3 separate regions of the Homo sapiens genome follow, and all the other regions are linked to region 1. The links are contacts of gene promoters, found by promoter capture Hi-C in human tissues and cell types (Jung and others, 2019). All regions are on one chromosome and are shown on one strand. The core of a region is centred on a gene start or on the middle of the fragment in contact, and the rest is flanking DNA. Distances in the headings are between cores, read along the strand shown. Region 1 holds the start of MBP (myelin basic protein). Region 2 has its middle 350 kb from the start of LINC01029. Region 3 has its middle 330 kb from the start of LINC01029.

What was found. Contacts are between HindIII fragments. The study calls those that stand out against the background at their distance.
Region 2: a fragment that was not itself captured here is called in contact with the fragment with the promoter of MBP in region 1 in 2 of the 25 tissues and cell types used here (dorsolateral prefrontal cortex and spleen).
Region 3: a contact is called between a fragment that was not itself captured here and the fragment with the promoter of MBP in region 1, in 1 of the 25 tissues and cell types used here (dorsolateral prefrontal cortex).

Annotation. Positions count from the first base shown.
Region 1 is chr18:77,131,369-77,134,068 of GRCh38, reverse strand. It overlaps MBP (myelin basic protein), which reads left to right and starts at 1,286. Exons shown (of 9, transcript NM_001025101.2): 1 at 1,286-1,489. RefSeq lists a silencer at 1,022-2,321. The HindIII fragment of the contact is 18,599 bases long and covers 1-2,700 here.
Region 2 is chr18:77,644,141-77,646,840 of GRCh38, reverse strand. No RefSeq gene overlaps it. Among named protein-coding and RNA genes, the nearest start is that of LINC01029, 350 kb to the left of the region's middle. The HindIII fragment of the contact is 6,200 bases long and covers 1-2,700 here.
Region 3 is chr18:77,664,872-77,667,571 of GRCh38, reverse strand. No RefSeq gene overlaps it. Among named protein-coding and RNA genes, the nearest start is that of LINC01029, 330 kb to the left of the region's middle. The HindIII fragment of the contact is 5,019 bases long and covers 1-2,700 here.

The DNA.
Region 1 (2,700 bases), core at 37-2,536:
GCAGCTGTCCAGCCTCCCACGCCCACTCCGCTCATCCTTGACTTAAAGTGAGGTTGTGGGGCAGAAAAATTGGAGAAACACACTATCTTTGGCACCCTTTTCCCTCCTCACCTTCAGCCTCAAAGTCTCAGAACCCTCCTGCCCCCTCCACTTGAAAATCTCTCCTGAGGAAACGACCAGACTGAATGCTTTTGCGTCGTTGTGGAAGTATTTCTCTTCCAGTTGCCAGCATTTGAAGACAGTTGCTAAATCCTCCGGGGCTTTGGGGGAGGCTGGTTTTAGGCCGAAACCCCGACCCCGTGCTGAAGTCTGAGTCCCGCCTCCCAGCGCGGGCCGGGACAGCGCTCACCCCTCTCCCTCACTTCCTAACAAACTGTGTGGGTCCCAGGCTGCTCCAGGTCCCCTGGAAGCTCCAGATCCAGATCCCTGACTGGGGGTGTAGGTCAGGAGGAACGCGGGGCCTCATTCTGGGACTCCCCCAACCTCCTCCTCTTCCACCATCAGGAGGCTGAGAATCCAGAGAAAGATCTCTGACCACTAAATCTGTGTGCAGGTGAGTCACGGCTAAACAGCAGGCTTTTTCTTTTTAACAAGACAGCGACGAAGACCACGATGTCTCTGGGCTGCAGGACCAGGCTGCTTCCTCGCACCTGCGCGTGTTTTGCTGTCTTTTCCGCGCACGCTTCCTGCGCCGGTCCTGCAGGAGAAGGTGCGCCCCTAGCTCCCAGCTCCCAGCTCCCAGCTCCCAGAGGAGCACCTGCCAGCCGGACATGGGCCTGGCCTGGGCTCCAGGGGAGGGAGGGAGTGCCTTGGGAGGACCTGCCGGCTCCTTTCGCCTCCAGGCCGGGCTGACTCTCCTCCTGCAGGGCCGGGGCTGCGCCAAGTCTATCGGCAGTTTCTGGGGTTTCCAGCCCCTGAGGACGCGGGGAGATGCGGCCTGGCACCCCTCCCGCGAGGTCGAGGTCGGGGTCGGGGTGGGTTCGGAGGCCAAGCCTCCGAACGGGAAGGGTCGACGGGCCGCAGTTCGGAGCCCAGTTCGGCAGCGGGCGAGGCTCCAGGCCGCCCCTCCGAGGTCTGACCCTGCGCGTGGGCCCCGTGCGCCCCCCAAGTTCCGCGTGGGCAGAGCGGGCCCGGGGTCCTCCGAGCTCCCGGGGCGGCGCCGGCGGCCGCGTCCAGGTGGGGCGGGCCCGGCGGGATCGGCCTGTGTTTACCTGGCTCGCAGGAAGCCCGGGGAGGCGGGGCCGGGGAGCTGGGTGCGCGCCCGTCCCTCGGAGCCGCCGCCGTCAGTCACCGCCGCCGCGCGCCAGAGAGAAGCAGCCTCCGGCCCCGGCGGCCCCTGTCTCCCGACCCCGGAAGGCGAAGCAGGCTGCCCGGGGACCCCGCGCGTGGGCGCTTGAAGCCGAGACCAGCCTGCCCGGGCCTGGGCAGGCGGAGCAGGGCCTTGGACCCCGCGGCGCCCCTCGGCCTCGGAGCAACGAGCGCAGCGCCGGTGGGTGACCCTCGGGGACGGGCGGGCTGCTCTGCCGCCTTTGTCTCTGTGCCCCTCCGAGTGGGGACCGCGGAGACCTGGGCGGGACCCCGGACCGGAGCCCCGCGGGAGCCGGGGGCGCAAGATCGGGGACAGGAGCTATCCCGACGCCCGGACTCCGGGTCCCTTTCTTGGCTGGGGACGCGCAGGGAGAACCTAGGCAGCGGAGCAGGTGGCCGAGCAGGTAGCAGCCGGCGGCCTCCCTGACCCGAACCCAAGTCGCCGCCCCCGATCCCCATTGCGCGGGGGCTGGGCGCGGGTGTAGACGCGGGTTTACAGCGCCGGGGCCCGACCCTGACAGGTGTCCAGGGGTGGACTCCAGCCAGGCCCGGCGGTCCCAGGGTCGCTGAAACCGCTCGGCCTCGGGCCGTGGGGCTGAGGGGAGGAGTCTAGGGTGGGAGGGGACGGCGGTCAAAAGCGGCCACTCTGGGCGGGTGTGGAGAGGGTGCTGGCTGCCAGGGCGGGCTGGGGGGTCCTCCCGGCTCGCGGCGCCTGCTAATCACACCCCGGGGGCCCCGCGCGCGATCGCGCTCCTGCCCCTGCCCCCGGGGCGAAGCGCAGTCTCCCTCTGAGCTCCAGGGGCGGCCAGGAGAGCCCGGGTCCGGGCTTCCGCCTTCGCAGGGCCTGTCTCGGGCTCTTCGGCCGGGCCCGTCGCTGCGCCCACCTGGGCCCACGTGCGCCGCCCGCAGCCGCCCGCCGGCCCGCCCGGGTCTTCCCGGCAGTCCCCTCCTGGGCCCCACTGCCTGTCCTGGGCCGGGTGCGTCCGTTTTCCGTGGCCCCCGAGGCCGGGGTGTGTGACCTGCGGTCATTTGCCGCCACACTAGATTTTCCGGGGTGCTGGGGGCAGCGCCTTGTGTCCTTTCGCGTCCACCTGAGCCCCCCCGTTTTGGAAGGTGGAGTGGGGCTTGGGAAAAGGTTCAAGCGTCTTTGGGGACCCCCGTGCGACTCTGGCTGGAAACAGGCGAGCTCTGGTTCCTTGTTCCGTTTTCCAATTGCAACAACGTGAGAATCAACAAGTGCTCGGTTTCTCTGCGCGTGGGTGAGGGGCGCGTGGGCTCGCTGGGTGCTGGGGTGGGGAGGGGGCGTGGACTTCGTTCCGGGGAGGCCTCTGCCTCGTCTGACCACAGAACGCCCCGCCTGGAAAGAGAGTTTTTCAGAGGAAGGAAACGTCA
Region 2 (2,700 bases), core at 73-2,572, 510 kb before region 1:
CAAAGGAATTATTTTTAATGAGTGGGATTTCCCTTCTGGGGAGATGGGATATGCATCCTTTTCCCTCTTCCTCCCACTGAGCATAATGAATAATCTTGAACATTATGAGTAGAACAAGCATTAGACAGCTCAGAAGGCAGACTGGCTGGGGCCTCAGGATGCAAGAATGGCACAGAGGTGAGTTCTTGGACTCACCTCAGGGCAGAGGACTCCAGCAATATAGAAATGCTAACAGGCACAAAGAAAGCCCTGGCAGAAGAAAGGAGCAGCCTACCCAGACAGAAAACTTAGACAGTACCCACTCGACTCCAGCCACAACACATGCAAAACACTGCTGCCCTTCCCCATCCACACAAGCCAGATGGGGCCCCAGACTCTCACCCCCACCTGGCAGTAACAAGCCATCAGTCACTTCTAAGCCAGAGCAGTATCAAAGGAACCAGCTGCAACAGAAGGTTCCAGTGAGATAAGTAAGACCCAGAGTCTTCTGACATAGTACGAAATGTGCACCTCTTTCAATAGAAAATCCCTGTCATGCCAAGAAGCAGCAAGATCACAAAGTGGATGAAACAAGGCAAGCCATAGATGCCAACATCCAGCATAGAGGTGCTATCATAGAGTGACCTCACAGGGACTTAAAGCAGCCACAGTAAAGATACTTCAAGGGCAATGGCAAACATAATTGAAACAAATGAAAAAACACAAAGCCTCAGCAAAGAAATTGAAATCCTCAAGAAAGAAATAGAAAATACAAGGAAGTAAACAAATTTTGGACTGAAAAATCAAATAATAAAACAAGTTTGGATATTTGCAAGGACAATGATGACAGTCATGAATTAAGGATTGATGAGTATGATGGATTCTGTGCTACTGAAGCCCCCCAAAAGAAATAAATATATATGCCCACCCATCTTTGAATTCCATAAAAGGAAATTTCTAGAAAAGTATTTTTGAAATCTCTACATTTGGAAAGTTATTTCAAATTCTCCTCCCAATAAAAGATGTGTTATTTAGTGGAATAGCAGCAAGTTTTCAGGATGATGTTAATGTTCCCTTTCATTTTGTACACGTGCCAAAATGCATCAGTACGTAATCATCAGCCTTCCAAACTGTGTTCACACATTTCCCGTGCTAATATTTCACCCACATAACTTCATTTCCCTGCCTTTGATTCTTGCAATAACACATCTAGCACTTGTGAGCATGCACCGTCAGGCTGAAAAAGAGGCTTGTATCCTGTTAGGCATTACTGAATATTGGAATAGCCTCCTAATGCCTTTCCGCCCTTCCGAAAAAATCCACTCCTATTTATCCAGCACTGGTTTGGACATGAAATGTCCTCAATTAAATATTATTAACGTCTCAGTTCCTAAATAATGAATTTACATTTTCTGGTACTCTTTTGCCTTTAAAGCCCCTTTGACAGGCATTGTCTCGTGTTTTGGCCACAGACACTATGGGGTGGGGAAGATGAGTGTTATCACACATGCTAGCAGGTGAAAAGATTGAGGCTAAGATTTCATATCTGCCATTGTTTAGCTACATCACTAACCAATGTCAGATCCAGCCCAGAAAGTTATTGTTTTGAGTTTGGGGCAATGCTTTTTTCCAAATTTTTATACTTCCTTCTTATTCTTTATCTAAGCAAGCAAGAGCCCACCTTCTGCCCCTGACTAGACCCGGCTATGTGGCACGATTCCAGTGGGATTCACTTTCTGCCCCATCCACGGGTCTTGGCCTTTCTCACCTCCACCCATGTACTCAGGCCTTGTCATCTGCCTGGGATGCTTCCTGCCTTCTCTTTGTCTCTTTAAATCCTGCTCTGCAAAACATAGTTCAAATGCTCTTTCCTTCAGAAAGCCTTTCAGAGCTACTCTTATGAGCTACTAAGGCAATTAATTTTAAAGGAATTCACTCACCAATAAGCTTAAAAACAGATGTTGAGGTGTTTTGATATTTCACTCATCAGGTATTTATAGCTTGCTTCCCAGAATCAATTATAAGCTTTTTTTCAGTGGAAATATTCTTGAATTTTCCTTGAATTCTCACAGTGACCATAATATATAATAAAATAACATAGATGTGAACATAATATATAATAAAAGAACAAAATACCAGTGAGAATTTTATTTCCATGTCAAATAAAATCAACAAAGATTCTATTTGACATGGAAATAAAATTCTCACTGATAATACAATGTTCTAATAAAATGCTATAGAGCTTTATTTTAAGAATTCTCTTCTAAAACTTTCTGAGAATAGATGATGACTTGATGCATTTATCTAGAAGACGAAACACAGGTATTTCTTTTGAACAATGTAATAATTTAAAATGTAGGTTTAAGCTGACGTTTGTACCCAAAATGCCACTGTTAGAAATTGAGCCGTGGGTAATCTTACACAAGGTTGTTGCAGGAAGTTTCCAGCAGATGACTGTGAACAAATTGAGAGATGAGACAAAATGAAGTTCCGTGAGTCCAAAATATTACCTGAATGACAGGTCAAGGCTATAGCAGTAGGATGAGCCTAGCATGAGAGTAAAGCAGAATCCCAAGTAAAGCTCTGACCCAGGTCCAACCTTCCGGCCATCACAGGGAGTGTCTGGGAACCCATCCATTGAAGTGGAGGACAGAAATGGGTCCTGCTCATTAAGCTTTCTCCCTGAATCATGCCCAGTTATATACCCCCTATGTAAATGAA
Region 3 (2,700 bases), core at 82-2,581, 530 kb before region 1:
ACTCTGGGGGAGCCAATACTGGCCATCGCTTAACTTCTGCTTAAAAAGCAGTTTTCCTGGTTCTTGATCCAAGCCCAGCATCTGCAAGAACAAGTTATTGACAGAGAGAAATCAGAATCAGGGTGCAGGAAACCCCAAACAGTGGCTCCCTCCCAGCTCAGCAGGTCCCAAGCAGCCTACACCTTGAAAATGCACACAGGGCCAGGCGCAGTGGCTCACGCTTGTAATCCCAGCATTTTGGGAGGCCAAGGCAGGTAGATCACTTGAGGCTAGGAGTTCAAGCCCAGCCTGGTCAACATGGCAAAACCCCCTCTCTACTAAAAATACACACACACACAAACACACACATACACACACATACACATACAAATAGCTGGATGTGTTGGGACACACCTATAGTCCCTAGCTACTCAGGAGGCTGAGGCAGGAGAACTGCTTGCACCCGGGAGGCAGAGGCTGCAGTGAGCCGAGATCACCCCACTGCACTCCAGCCTGGGCAGCAGAGTGAGACTCTGTCTCACAAAAAAGGAGAAGAGAAGAAGAGGAGAGGGGAGGGGAGGGGAGGGGAGGGGGACAATTCACAGAAGAAAAGCTGATAAACACATGAAATGGCGCACAATATGATTCTTAACTAGGTCCACATTAAATAATTGAGATTCATTGTTTGACAATGGTGGCAAACTTTTTAAAAAGATGACTAACGGACAGCAATGGCAACAGTGGGAGGCAATCAATCATTTTGGCCTATTGGGAGGACTATGTATCATGATGAAAATATTTGGAGAGTAGTTAGAATTGTTTCTATATTCATTAGCATAGGCACTCTACTATAAAAAATAATTTCCCAAATCTCAGTGGCTAAATCCAACACAGTTTCCATTTCTAACTTTTATCCAGTCCAACAGAGCTGATGGCGAGGGGCAAAAGAGGACTCCACCCAGTCATTCAGGGCCCCAGGCTCCTTTCCTCAGTGACTCCATCGTGCACGAGGTAGCCCCAGCATTCTCCACTGGATCCTCTGCACCCAGCGAGAAAGAGAGATGTGCATTGGACCTGATGCTGGTGACGGCATGGAACAGCTTCCTCACAGCCAGGCTGCAGGGCTAATAGCGAGATTCTGCTGAACTCTGTAAAAACCAGGAATCGTGGATCACACCGGAAAATGATGGATGGAGAACTTTGGTCTTCATTGTTGTTGTTTCTAAAATTTATTTGTATGACTTTTTCATTGATAAACTCCCCTCTGATACCATGGCTCCTACAGCAGGTATAGCAGGGAAATGAGGCTACCTGGAGGACCCACCCTTACATGAGCAGCTCGGAGGGTGACCTCTGAACCATCTCCTCATGACGGCAGCCGTTCTGGGTCCTGCTCACAGCACAGAGGTGCAAACTTCAGACCTGGGAGTCTTGCTCTGCTGGCACTGCCCTTCATGTTTACATTATACTTTCACTAATTTTTTTTTTTTTTTTGGTCCACGCACTTAATTGCTTCCTCACTAACATACCTTGGGACTGGTTATAATCCTTCTCTATGGAGATATGTTTGCTATCTGATGCTTTCTCAGGACAGAGCTGCAATTTTAGCTAAATTACCAAGCTCTTCAAAGTGATGCAATTGGGAACATTCAGACAGTTGAAAAATGGCCCAGAAAGCACGAAAGATTCATTAAAGCACCTGGTGTCTGCCTGGAGCTGTGTTACATGGAGAAAACACCAAATCCAATAGAGCAACTTCTTTCCCCAAGGAGCTCCAAGCCTAGAAAATAAGATAGACGAAACAACAATGATGGTGCAATTTCTGTCTCATCTACGCAGCCAAAACTCAGCAACGCCACAATTTAAGTTTCCCTCCACTTCATTTGCTCTGAGATGCTTGTTAGTTGCTAGTTGCACTTCCACAGGAGGCTTCAGCCCCATTCAAATGCATAGCATATTTCCTACAGAAATTCTGCCCTCGTAAGCTGGATCTCTCGTAGTACACCCCCTTCCACTGTCCTGACTTCCCCTCCGTGGCACCTCCATGACAATTGCAGAACACCCGGCGAATAACGGTGCACCTGCAGGTTCATTTTACTACCTGTGTTCTGCAGACATAGAGAAAGGCCGCATCTTTAGTTTATCTTGTAACTGAGCCATCTTTTTCTTGTGTGAAATGCAGCATTGTGCTCGCAATGTTTTTTTTCAAGTGCTAACCTTACTTCCTGTTTAATATTAACTGGTTTTCTTCTCTTGCTTAGGAAAGTTAAGCTTTTGAGTTTTTATTCTTTCCTCATCTATGGGCGTTTTCTCTATCATGCAAATGACAGTAGATAATACCCTCATGACTACAAGGTTACCACTTTGTGACCACATATTATGGTTCTGAAATTCAAACTACGCTCTTTGGTATCATCTGTTTTCTCCATTTTGTCATTGGTTCAGTAGCAGCTTTGATAGTTCTGTCTCCAAAAATTCTGGTACTCCTTGTATCTTTATGTGTCCCTTTCTCTACTCAGTGGGATGTGTTGGAGACTTTTCCTCCAGCCCCTTTCCCAGGAGCAAGCAAGCTTGCCCTTCACAAAGCTGGTGCATGCTCTAGCAAACCCTGTGTTGAACACCATGAAAACCAACGCTCAGACGCCAAGCGTTTGGTGCTTAAGAAGAACGACAGTTCTGTTGGCTCCTACAGCTCATTCCTCCTTTCACTTTGTTGAGATA